2 separate regions of the Homo sapiens genome follow, and region 1 is linked to region 2. Evidence: promoter capture Hi-C in human tissues and cell types (Jung and others, 2019). All regions are on one chromosome and are shown on one strand. The core of a region is centred on a gene start or on the middle of the fragment in contact, and the rest is flanking DNA. Distances in the headings are between cores, read along the strand shown. Region 1 overlaps EPC1-AS1 (EPC1 antisense RNA 1). Region 2 holds the start of CCDC7 (coiled-coil domain containing 7).

Region 1 (5,168 bases), core at 2,384-4,883, 91 kb after region 2:
TTATTCAAAGAACAGCAGACATTGGTTCTGTGCCTTAAACCGTGAAAATTTAAACCCACTTTCTTCCCCCCCCGCCCCCGCTTTTTTTTTTTTTTTTACTCCGTTCCCCAGGCTGGAGTGCAGTGACGCGATCACAGTCCACTACAGCCTCAACCTCCTAGGCTCAAGTGATCCTCCCACCTCAGCCTCCCAAGTAGCTAGGACTACAGGTGTGCACCACCACACCCTGGCTAATTTTTGTATTTTTTGTAGAGATGGGGTCTCATTATGTTGCCCAGGCTTGTCTCAAACTCCTGGGTGCAAGTGATCCTCCTGCTTCAGCCTTGAAAAGTGCTGGGTTTAAAGGTGTGAGACACCACACCCATCCTAAACCCACTTTTTATTTTTATTTTAAAAGTACTATTCAGATTATACGTGTTCTTTATAACAATGAAAAGTCAGTGCATTCTATACTTTAAGAGGGTAATTCTTAAGTAAATTGTTTTACAGATGCTAGATAAGTATCTTTGTCAAATAATAGTCTCAGAAGAGTATTTAATGAGATGGGAGCATTCTCAAATTATACTGAGAAGTAGCCTGGGCGTGATGGCTCATGCCTGTAATCCCACCACTTTGGGAGGCTGAGGCGGGTGGATCACTTGAGGTCAGGAGTTCGAGACTAGCCTGGCCAACATGGTGAAACCTTGTCTCCACTAAAAATACAAAAATTAGCTGGGTAAGGTGGCAGGCACCTGTAATCCCAGCTACTCGGGAGGCTGAGGCAGGAGAATCTCATGAATCCGGGAGGTGGAGGTTGCAGTGAGTGGAGATCATGCCATTACATTCCAGCCTGGCAACAGAGTGAGACTCTGTCTAAAAAAAAAAAAAAAAAAAAAAATTTATTGAGAAGGCCACAAAACAGAATAAACTGTATTATCTCTATATTGTAAAACCAGCCAATGAAAAGCAAAAACAAAAACTAACAAATGGGGCCAGGCATGGTGAATCACACCTATGATCCCAGCACTTTAGAAGGCTGAGGCAGGAGGACTGCTTGAGGTCAGGAGTGCAAGATCAGCCTAGCCAACGTAGCAAGACCCTGTCTCTAGAAAACAATTAAAAAATTATCCAGACATGGTGGCACGCACCTGTAGTCCCAGCTACTGAAGGCTGAGGCAGAAGGATCACTTGAATCCAGAAGTTTGAGGCTGCAGTGAGCCGTGATAGCACAACTGCACTGCAGCCTGGGCCACAAAGCAAGATCCTGTGTCAAAACCACAACAAAACTAACAAACAAAACCAGAAAAGACCAGAAGAAACAGAAACACAAAGTGTTAACCTTATTATAAATAAATCAATTGAAACAAAAAATATTATCTCGTTCCAATATACATGCTGCTGCAGTGCAACTGTCTTATTTTTTGTCTTATGCGTCTCGTGTTTGGGAAACCAAATTCAGAAGAAATCTTAAGATCTGGATGTGGCTTTTACCTGTGTCAGTAATTCATGTAGAGAAGTCATGTAGGTCTTTGGTTTCCAAGCTTCTACAGCTTTAACTCTGGAAGATACGTCATGTACTCTGTTCTAACATGGGAGGCGCTGAGGATGATAGCTACTCTGTGTCCCTGGCTATGTCCTGAAGCTTAACTGATTTTTGACTTCAAAGTGGTCTCATTCTTGTGAACAAGTACTTAAACAATGATTATAGGAGGGTACTGGGAAATCACTTTTTTGGGGGCTTTGGTAAATTTTTTTATTTTTATTTTTTTGATGCGGAGTCTCGCTCCCTCGCCCAGGCTGGAGTGCAGTGGTGCGATCTCAGCTCACTGCAAGCTCCGCCTCCCGGGTTCACGCCATTCTCCTGCCTCAGCCTCCCGAGTTGGGACTACAGGTGCCCACCACCACGCCCAGCTAATTTTTTGTATTTTTAGTAGAGATGGGGTTTCACCGTGTTAGGCAGGATGGTCTCGATCTCCTGACCCCGTGATCCGCCCGCCTCGGCCTCCCAAAGTGCTGGGATTACAGGCGTGAGCCACCGCGCCTGGCGGTAAATGTTTAATCAACGTGCGCAGGCACCACTAGGCCTATAACTTCCAATTCACGGCTCAGCTCACAGAGTCTATTTTCCTCCCACGGTGTCCTAAAGAAAATGGGTTTACTGTGACCTCCTCATTCTTTTTGATTCTCCTCGTTGATCTCCTCCTTGAAATGCTGACCTCATTTGGCTTGTCTCCAGGCTTGTCCCAGCCTCTCCCTCTGTTCTTGTCCTGGGTATCTTCTAGATGTTGGTATTCCCCAGGGCTCCATTCTCTATGCTCCTCTCTCACTCCCTGAGTGAGTCTTCACACCAAGAATCCCACTCCATGGGCTTCCAGTCATTCACTTTCCCTTCCCTGCTCTGAAAGGGAAGGGGAACTAGATTCACAGTGCTTACCTAAGCAATTGGCACAATGTTACTCAAGGTGTCATGGAGAAGAATAAATATAGTGAAAGATAAAACATTTTATTTCACTAATCTTAATTTATTAGATGATAATTCTGTACCCCAAGTTTCAGTAAGAAAACAGAATTTCCTTCCTCGTGTTATAAAAGCAAAAGCAATTCATGATATTTTCTCTCTCGAAGCCCTTCCTCCCTGACAGTCTTTGTCTACCACCCACTAATAAATTGTACTTAAATGTTCCAACATATGTTTCTACTTCATTAACAATTTTTCTCTAAATTTTGTTCCTTTGTTCCTTCACCCATCATGTACCATCTGTACCATACTGATTTGTATGTGCATTACTTAGTAAAACTAATGCTTAAGTAGTCTATCTACTCAAAAGTGTAAGGCACTGGCCAGGTGCAGTGGCTTACACCTGTAATCCCAGCACTTTGGGAGGCCAAAGCAGGCAGATCACCTGCGGTCTGGAGTTCAAGACCAGCCTGGCCAACATGGTGAAACCTTGTCTCTACTAAAAATACAAAAATTAGCTGGGTGTGGTGGCGCACGCCTGTAGTCCCAGCTACTCGGGAGGCTGAGGCAGGAGAATGGCTTGAACTCAGGAGGCGGAGGTTGCAGCCAAGATCATGCCACTGCACTCTAGCCTGGTCAACTCTGTCCCAAAAAAAAAAAAAAAAAAAAAAAAAAAAAAAAAAAGGGTAAGGCACTAAAGGTAGTGTGTTCTTTGTTTTTGTCTTTCTACCATTTATAACCTTGCACCAATGCCTGGCCTACACATAGTAATCTGTCAGTATGTGCCAGTCAATGGATTTAATGGGTTGACAGTAATTTAACGTAATCCAGTTTAGATAAATACCACCAAATATTTCTAAAATGTATACAGTTTAATTTGTACATTTTTCTAAGATAGACTTTTATTCTGAGAAATTAATTGTTGGGATGAGACATGGAAGAGACTACCGAATAGTTCCTCTGCTAAGGAGTAAATTATTATTTTTCAAGTTCAGTTTCTCAACAGTTTCCTGTTCACGCATCCCACCACTTCTCCAACTGCAACTAGTAGTATCCTCCTTAAAATGCTGTCATAGAGGTATCAACTGCTTGCCAGCACAGTGAGGAAAAGATCAGATGATTTACAGCAGTGGTCCCCAGTCTTTTTGGCACCAGGGACTAGTTTCATGGGAGACAACTTTTCTATGGATCCAGGGGAGGGAGTGCTCCCCCTATGAGGATGATTCAAGTGCATTACATTTATTGTGCACTTTCTTTCTATTATTATTACATTGTAATATATAATGAAACAGTTCTACAACTCACCATAATGTAGAATCAGTGGGAGCCCTGAGCTTGTTTTCCTGCAACTAGACAGTCCTATGTGGGGACAGTGATGGGAGGCAGTGACAGATCATCAGGCATTAGATTCTCATAAGGAACATGCAACCCAGATCCCTCAATGTGCAGCTCAGAATAAGGCTTGAGGTCCTATGAGAATCTAATGCCGGGTGAAGCTTGGGTGGTAATGTGGGCACTAGGGATTGGCTGTAAATACAGATGAAGCTTTGCTGGCTTGCCTGCCACCCACTTCTGTGCTGTGTGGCCAGTTACACATTACACATTTACAATAAATGTGTAAATCCCAATACATTTACACATTTATTGTGTAAATCCTAAGGTTATAGAAAACCTAAACCTTAGGATTTACACAATAAATGTGTAAAGACATTCTATTTAGATTACATAGAAAATCTAAAATGTATTGTGTGACATCTTTTTTAAATCCCAATACTGCTGCAACTACAATTCTCAGATAGTCCCATTTGTTTAAATCACGCATTTTCTTTCTTTTTTTTGAGGCAGAGTCTCACTCTGTCGCCCAGGCTGGAGTGCAGTGGCACAATCTTGGCTCACTTCAAGCTCCGCCTCCCGGGTCCACACCATTCTCCTACCTCAGCCTCCCAAGTAGCTGGGATTACAGGCGCCCACCACCATGCCCAGCTAATTTTTTGTATTGAATCATGCATTTTTCATTTCTTTTTTGTTGTTGTTGTTAAACTTCATATTGAAGATAAAGTTAAACTGAAATAACTTTGAGTCCATCCTGCTACTGTTTGCTAAGATTGATAATTTGCCCTTTATTCTCTTAAGGTACAGATATATTGTTTCTAAATATATTCTGAATGATTTTATTTTATGTGAAAAATAGTTCTTAAAGATTATGTACAGACCTCCATGCACAAATTACTCAGTAAGGAAATCAGTACTTCAGATATTGTTTCTGTGACACCTTAGTAAATATATTGAAAGGCAACTGTAATATTTTCTTTCCAACATTTCCTAGATGAAAAAAACAACATACTATAAAGGGCTTCCAGTGTTTGTTTACCTAAATGTTATGGTGGAAGAATTGTTTGCAGTCATTTCTTTATGTAGCTTATTATGAAAGTAAAAAGCAGGAAGTTAAGAGAAATGATTAGAAATGATTACTTCAAGTGATAATGTATTCAGTATTCATACTTTTGCAGAATGCTTTAAATTATTGCACTACATCACTTTTTAATGTAGAGATCATTGTGCATTTACATGGTTTAAAGATATTAATTTCACATTTTCCCAATTAAATACAAATACAGTACCTCACTTTATTATTAGTCCCGTGAGGATGTAGAGACCATATCTTGTTTATTATTGTTTCTCCAACACAAACTGTCTTGCCTTAGCTCTTAGTAAACATTTGATAAATATT
Region 2 (5,518 bases), core at 2,037-4,536:
TCCCAAGGTCAGGAGTTCGAGACCAGCCTGGCCAATATGGTAAAACCCTGTCTCTATTAAAAATACAAAAAATTATCCAGGCGTGGTGGTGGGCACCTGTAGTCTCAGCTACTCGGGAGGCTGAGGCAGGAGAATCGCTTGAACTCGGAGGTAGAGGTTGCAGTGAGCAGAGACTGCACCACTGCACTCCAGCCTGGGGGATGGAGTAAGACTCCATCTCAAATAAATAAATAAATATAAAAATAATAAACTAAAAAACATGTTTTAGTTGTAGAATCATTAAAACAGAGAGACTAAAAATACATAAACACACAGAAAGAGAATATCAGCCATATGAAACAGGTATAAGAGGAATTTTTAAGACCCAAGTGAAGATATTAAAAAATGAAAAATATAACAGATAAAACAACACGAGTAATCACAAAATAATACTGCTGAAGAATAAAAACTGATGCAAAGAATAAAATCAGTGGAGGAATAATCCAGCTGAAGAATAAAAAATAATGCAAAGATCAGCAGCATTTATCACATATTCCTGAACATTAATAAAATACACATCAATAGTGATAAGTATTAAAAGCTAGTATCAGGTTTGAAAAAAATATAAATAATTAGCAATTCTACTGAAAATGAGAAAATAAAGGCCTATATATTTGTTAATAACAATAAACATGATTCAATTTTTGGAGAAGCAGTATCTAATGTTCAGAAGATCATCCGATATATATGAAGAGACCAATAATAGGATTTTTTTTATTTGCCAGAAACCATGGCAAAAGTTGATGGTATCCTGTTAGCACATTTATGCAAAACATAAATATCAATACCAAATAGTATAACATACTATTTTAGAGAATAAAATATAAAAACAAATAATAAAACTTACAGATGTTATAAATAAAACCACTTTGAATAAAGTTTTAAAAACTAATAATTTCTCAATTATTTTGGACATATGGACAGCAGATAACAATTGTTGATGTAATTATGGATTTCCAAAATGCAGATATTTCAATATGTGAACATTTATTAGGATTTTAACAAGTAGATGACACCCCGCTGGAAAAGAATCATATATATGTGTAAGAGACTACTCATAAAAAATTAAAATTAAAAATATATAATATATATGGGGCCAGGGATACATGCCCTTAAATATGTCTGACAAGCACAAACAGAAAATTCTCAAAAATAAAAATTCTAAACTAGGTTGTGAACAATAGAACGAAAATATCTTAATAGCACTGAAAATGTTTATTTCATCCAAGAATTATACAACTGCTTTTTTGTTTCGATGAAACACTATAGTTAACACTATAGTTAACTGAATGCATAGTTGCCAAGCATAATTTTTAAATCATAATCAAATATGACTTTGCAAAAATAACTTGTCACTAAAAATCCATTTGAAGGAAGAACACAATGCTCTCTTGGAAATTACTGATGATAATAGTAAATAAACACATTATAGAACTTGAACCAAAGCCCCTGCAAAATATTCCCTTTTACATTTTTCGTTTTTTTGAGACAGAGTTTCGCTCTTGTCGCCCAGGCTGGAGTACAATGGCACAATCTTGCTCACTGCAAACTTTGCCTCCCAGGTTCAAGCGATTCTCCTGCCTCAGCCTCCCAAGTAGCTGGGATTACAGGTGCCCACTGCCACGTCCGGCTAATTTTTGTATTTTTAATAGTGACAGGGTTTCACCACGTTGGCCAAGCTGGTCTCGAACTTCTGACCTCAGGTGATCCTCCCACCTCAGCCTCCCAAAGTGCTGGGATTACACGCCTGAGCCACTGTGCGCCCTGCTCCCTTTTACATTTTTCTCATGCCGATTGTGACACGATGCTTTCAGTAAAAATTAATGATACAAGCAAAATGATGCAGAAACCAAGATTAAATTTACAAAATTGAAAAGCCTCAAAAGAATTCTGAATAAATTACATTGCCAAAGAAACTCCATCAAAACCTTCAGGTCCAAGCAAACATCAAAAATTCCATCAAAACCATCAGGACCAGGAAACAGGACGTAAGAAGAGTGGCCAATGAGCCAATAAGTAAAACCAAAAGGTTATATATACATAGAAAGCAAGGAAAAGAAAATATCACCAAGGACCGAGTGATGAACTACGTCAAATGCTGAGTCAAGTAAAATGAAGACTAAGCTGACACTGGATTTGGCAACATGGAGGTAGGTCATTTGTAACCTGAAGAACGGCAACAATTTCAGTAGAATGATCGAGGTAAATATCTGACTTACCGTTCAAAAGAGAGGAAGTAGGAACAATGAATTGAATATAAGCACTGTAGAGAAATTTTACTATAAAAGGGAGTAAAGAAATACAGTATTACTAGAAGAAAACATGGTCAAGAGGAAAGTTCGATGGAAAAAAGAACAAGTGTATATGCTGTTATGGATTGCATTGTGTCCTCTCTCCCCAAAAAAGTGTGAGGGAGGGAGGGAGGGAGGGAGGGAGGGAGGAAGGGAAGAGGGGAAGGAAGGAAGGGAGGGAGGGAGGGAGGCAGGCAGGCAGGCAGGCAGGCAACGCTCACTTGGTGCAAAAAAAAAGAACCTGACAAATGCTCCGATGAAGTTCACATAAATACAAAAATAGTCACACGCAATGAATACTCGTATTAGCAAGCAAATATTTAAGGACTTTACATATTTAATTCATTTATCCCTCCTAACAATGCTAGGAAGTGGATGTCAGCATTACTTCGCCCAAGTGCATCCGTCCCTTTCCGCCACCACGACAAATGTTTTCTGGTTTCATCCTTCAAGGATTAACTTACATTCATTTCAAATCCTTTAATGATAAAGTGTACAAAATAGAGGAGAGCGGCAGGGGTTGGCAGGGGACGTAGGGAAAGGATGATTTGCCTTCGATCCTACATCCTGCATAAAAAGCAGCACAACCGCCACGGAGGCAGCCAGGCAGCGGGAAAACTAAGTGCAAAGCCAGGACTCTCCCGAAACCCTCAGGTCCTGCTAAGGGAGCCGCTCCCGAGGCTCCCCGCCCTGTGTACCTGCTGAGACTGTGGGAAGTCGGGTGACTGGGCGGTTTGGCCTTGCTGGCTCTAAGGTGAAAAACTATTTGCCTGAGGAAGATGACAATTCCGAGCCTGCCAGACTTCCTTCGAGACGGAAGCCTGAAAACTCCTCAGACTCCAGCACCTCCCTTTTACAAACTGACGTTTGTGCTGAAAGAAAAGGCCCGGCCTCTGCGCCCCCGGGCGGCAGCAAAGACCGCCGGGCACCCGCCGCCGGCGCCGGATGGGGCCGTTGAAGCCACGTCCCAGGCGCCCGACGCCACGACGCCTTGGCGCCGCCGGCGTCGCTGACGCTGCGAGCGTGAGCTGCGCGCCGAGAGCGGAAGAGGAGACGCAGTTTGGCGGCTGTGGGGATTTGCCGGAAGGTTAATAATGTCCATGGGCACATCGGCCTCCTCCTTTCTTATTCTCTCCCAAGTGTAATTCCAGGACGCCCCCTGAGCGCAGATTCATCCAGGCATTTGGCCTAGAGGCCCGCGGAGGAGAAATAAAGTACAGGCCTGGTAGGACCTTTGAGAACCTGGGCTTCAGCTACAAAACCAGAGCCCCAGTCCTTCATCTGCTGTCTCCTCAAGCTCTTTTCAGTGTATTGTGGAGTTCATTACCACTCTAAGCTCGCACGGAAGTGTACACCAGCTTCGTGATCTTAAAAGCAAAACAAAATCAAATGGACTAGGAATTAACTTGAAGCAGAGTTGTGACACTTAAGTGGTTTCTTGCCATCAGTTTCCACGCACTGCTTTAAGATGCAATTTTACAAGGTAGAGTTTTTTAGATAATTTGACCTCAAGAAATATATTAATTTTGTCTTTAAGTTGAACGAAGTAAAATGTTTTTAATATTTTAAAATATTAATTGATACAATTTAACTGTTAATAATGCCTGTGTGTAAATGAAAGGAATAGGAAAGATGGAACTAAAACTAAAAACCAGGAGGTTTAAAGGAGACCTTAGATTTGACTTAGTAGATTTCAACTATTTTCTAAAACTCTGAAAATTCATTATATCTAATTATTTCTAATTTTCCAGTAAAATCTGAATGCCTCACAAGAGATTCCTGAAAATTTATCAGCTCCCAAGAGCTGGTGTAGGCTAGCTCCATCACACCACTAGGAGTTACCATTGGGGTTGCCTGGAAAGGGAAAACAACACATCTTCTGGTGTACCAGAAATGTTCTGTCTTCTGCTCTTTCTGGGTGTGTTCAAAAATTCATGAAGGCAGGCTGGGCGTGGTGGCTCGCACCTGTAATCCCAGCACTTTGGGAGCCTGAGGCAGTGCATCACTCGAGGTCAGGAGTTCGAGACTAGCCTGGCCAACATGGTGAAACCCCATCTCTACTAAAAATACAAAAATTAGCCGGGCGTGATGGCGGGTGCCTGTAATCCCAGCTACTTAGGAGGCTGAGGCAGGAGAATCACTTGAACCCAGGAGGTGGAGGTTGCAGTGAGCCGAGATTGTGCCATTGCGCTCCAGCCTGGGCAACAGAGCGAGACTCCATCTAAAAAAGAAAAAAAAAAAAAAACATGAAGGCATATGCTTATTTATGCACTTTTCAGTATGTGTGTTTTATGTCAGTAACAAAGAAAATGTACATATAAATGATCAGATTTATTAAGCTTTCCACCAACAATTTTTTATTTTTTAAAGTTGGCAATAAAATTAAGAAAGTAGTTTAGAAAGAATTGAATTGCTAAATTCCAAATCTCCCAAAACCGTTGTAAATGAAAGGGATAGGAAAGATAGAACTAAAAGTCAGGAGAGATTAAAGAAGACCTTAGATTTGACAAAGCCAATTTCAGTTATTTTCTAGAACCCTGAAAATAGATTACATCTAGTCATTTCTAATTTTGTTGGTAAAATCTTAACGGTCAAGTTGTCAAGTTAGCATACATTAGCAAAACTCTCAGCATGAGTCTAGCCAAAAGTTCACCATTCATATCTGTGGCCTTAATAGCACAGCTAAGAACCACAGAAAAGTTATCAGTGCTGACAATGTAAAGCAAAGAAGTTTAAAAAGTTAATAAATTTAAGCATGTAATATCAAATTTTGCAGTGGTTTGAGTCTGTGACATGAATCGATTATTCTTTGAAAACAAACAATACTTATGAATAGAGAGGAACTTTTTCATCTGATGAAGGACATCTGTGAACTATCTCCAGCTAACATCATTTTCAATAGTGAAAAATTGATTTTTCCTTAAGATTGGAAGGAGGCAAGGATATTTGCTCTCACTATGTCTATTCAGTATTATACTGGAGGTCTTAACAAGTGCAATAAGGCAAGAAAAAGAAATAAAGGCATAATGATTTCAATGAAAGAAATAAAGCTGTATTCCCAGACAACATACAATTTCCAGACATCTACAATGAAAACTATATAACATTACTGAGAGAAATTAAAGAAGATCCAAATTAATGGAGATTATGTACCATATTAATGGATTAGAAGACCCAATATTGCTAAA

The links. Contacts are between HindIII fragments. The study calls those that stand out against the background at their distance.
Region 1: a contact is called between a fragment that was not itself captured here and the fragment with the promoter of CCDC7 in region 2, in 2 of the 25 tissues and cell types used here (H1 embryonic stem cells and dorsolateral prefrontal cortex).

What each region holds. Positions count from the first base shown.
Region 1 is chr10:32,353,561-32,358,728 of GRCh38, reverse strand. All of the region lies in intron 1 of EPC1-AS1 (EPC1 antisense RNA 1), which reads right to left. It also overlaps a transcript of EPC1 not described here. Among named protein-coding and RNA genes, the nearest start is that of EPC1-AS1, 8.8 kb to the right of the region's middle. The HindIII fragment of the contact is 4,123 bases long and covers 1,572-5,168 here.
Region 2 is chr10:32,443,908-32,449,425 of GRCh38, reverse strand. It overlaps CCDC7 (coiled-coil domain containing 7), which reads right to left and starts at 3,286. Exons shown (of 44, transcript NM_001395015.1): 1 at 3,029-3,286. It overlaps LOC101929431 (a long non-coding RNA gene), which reads left to right and starts at 3,370. Exons shown (of 3, transcript NR_120660.1): 1 at 3,370-3,813. RefSeq lists a silencer at 3,116-3,345 and an enhancer at 3,416-3,735. The HindIII fragment of the contact is 7,178 bases long and covers 1-5,457 here.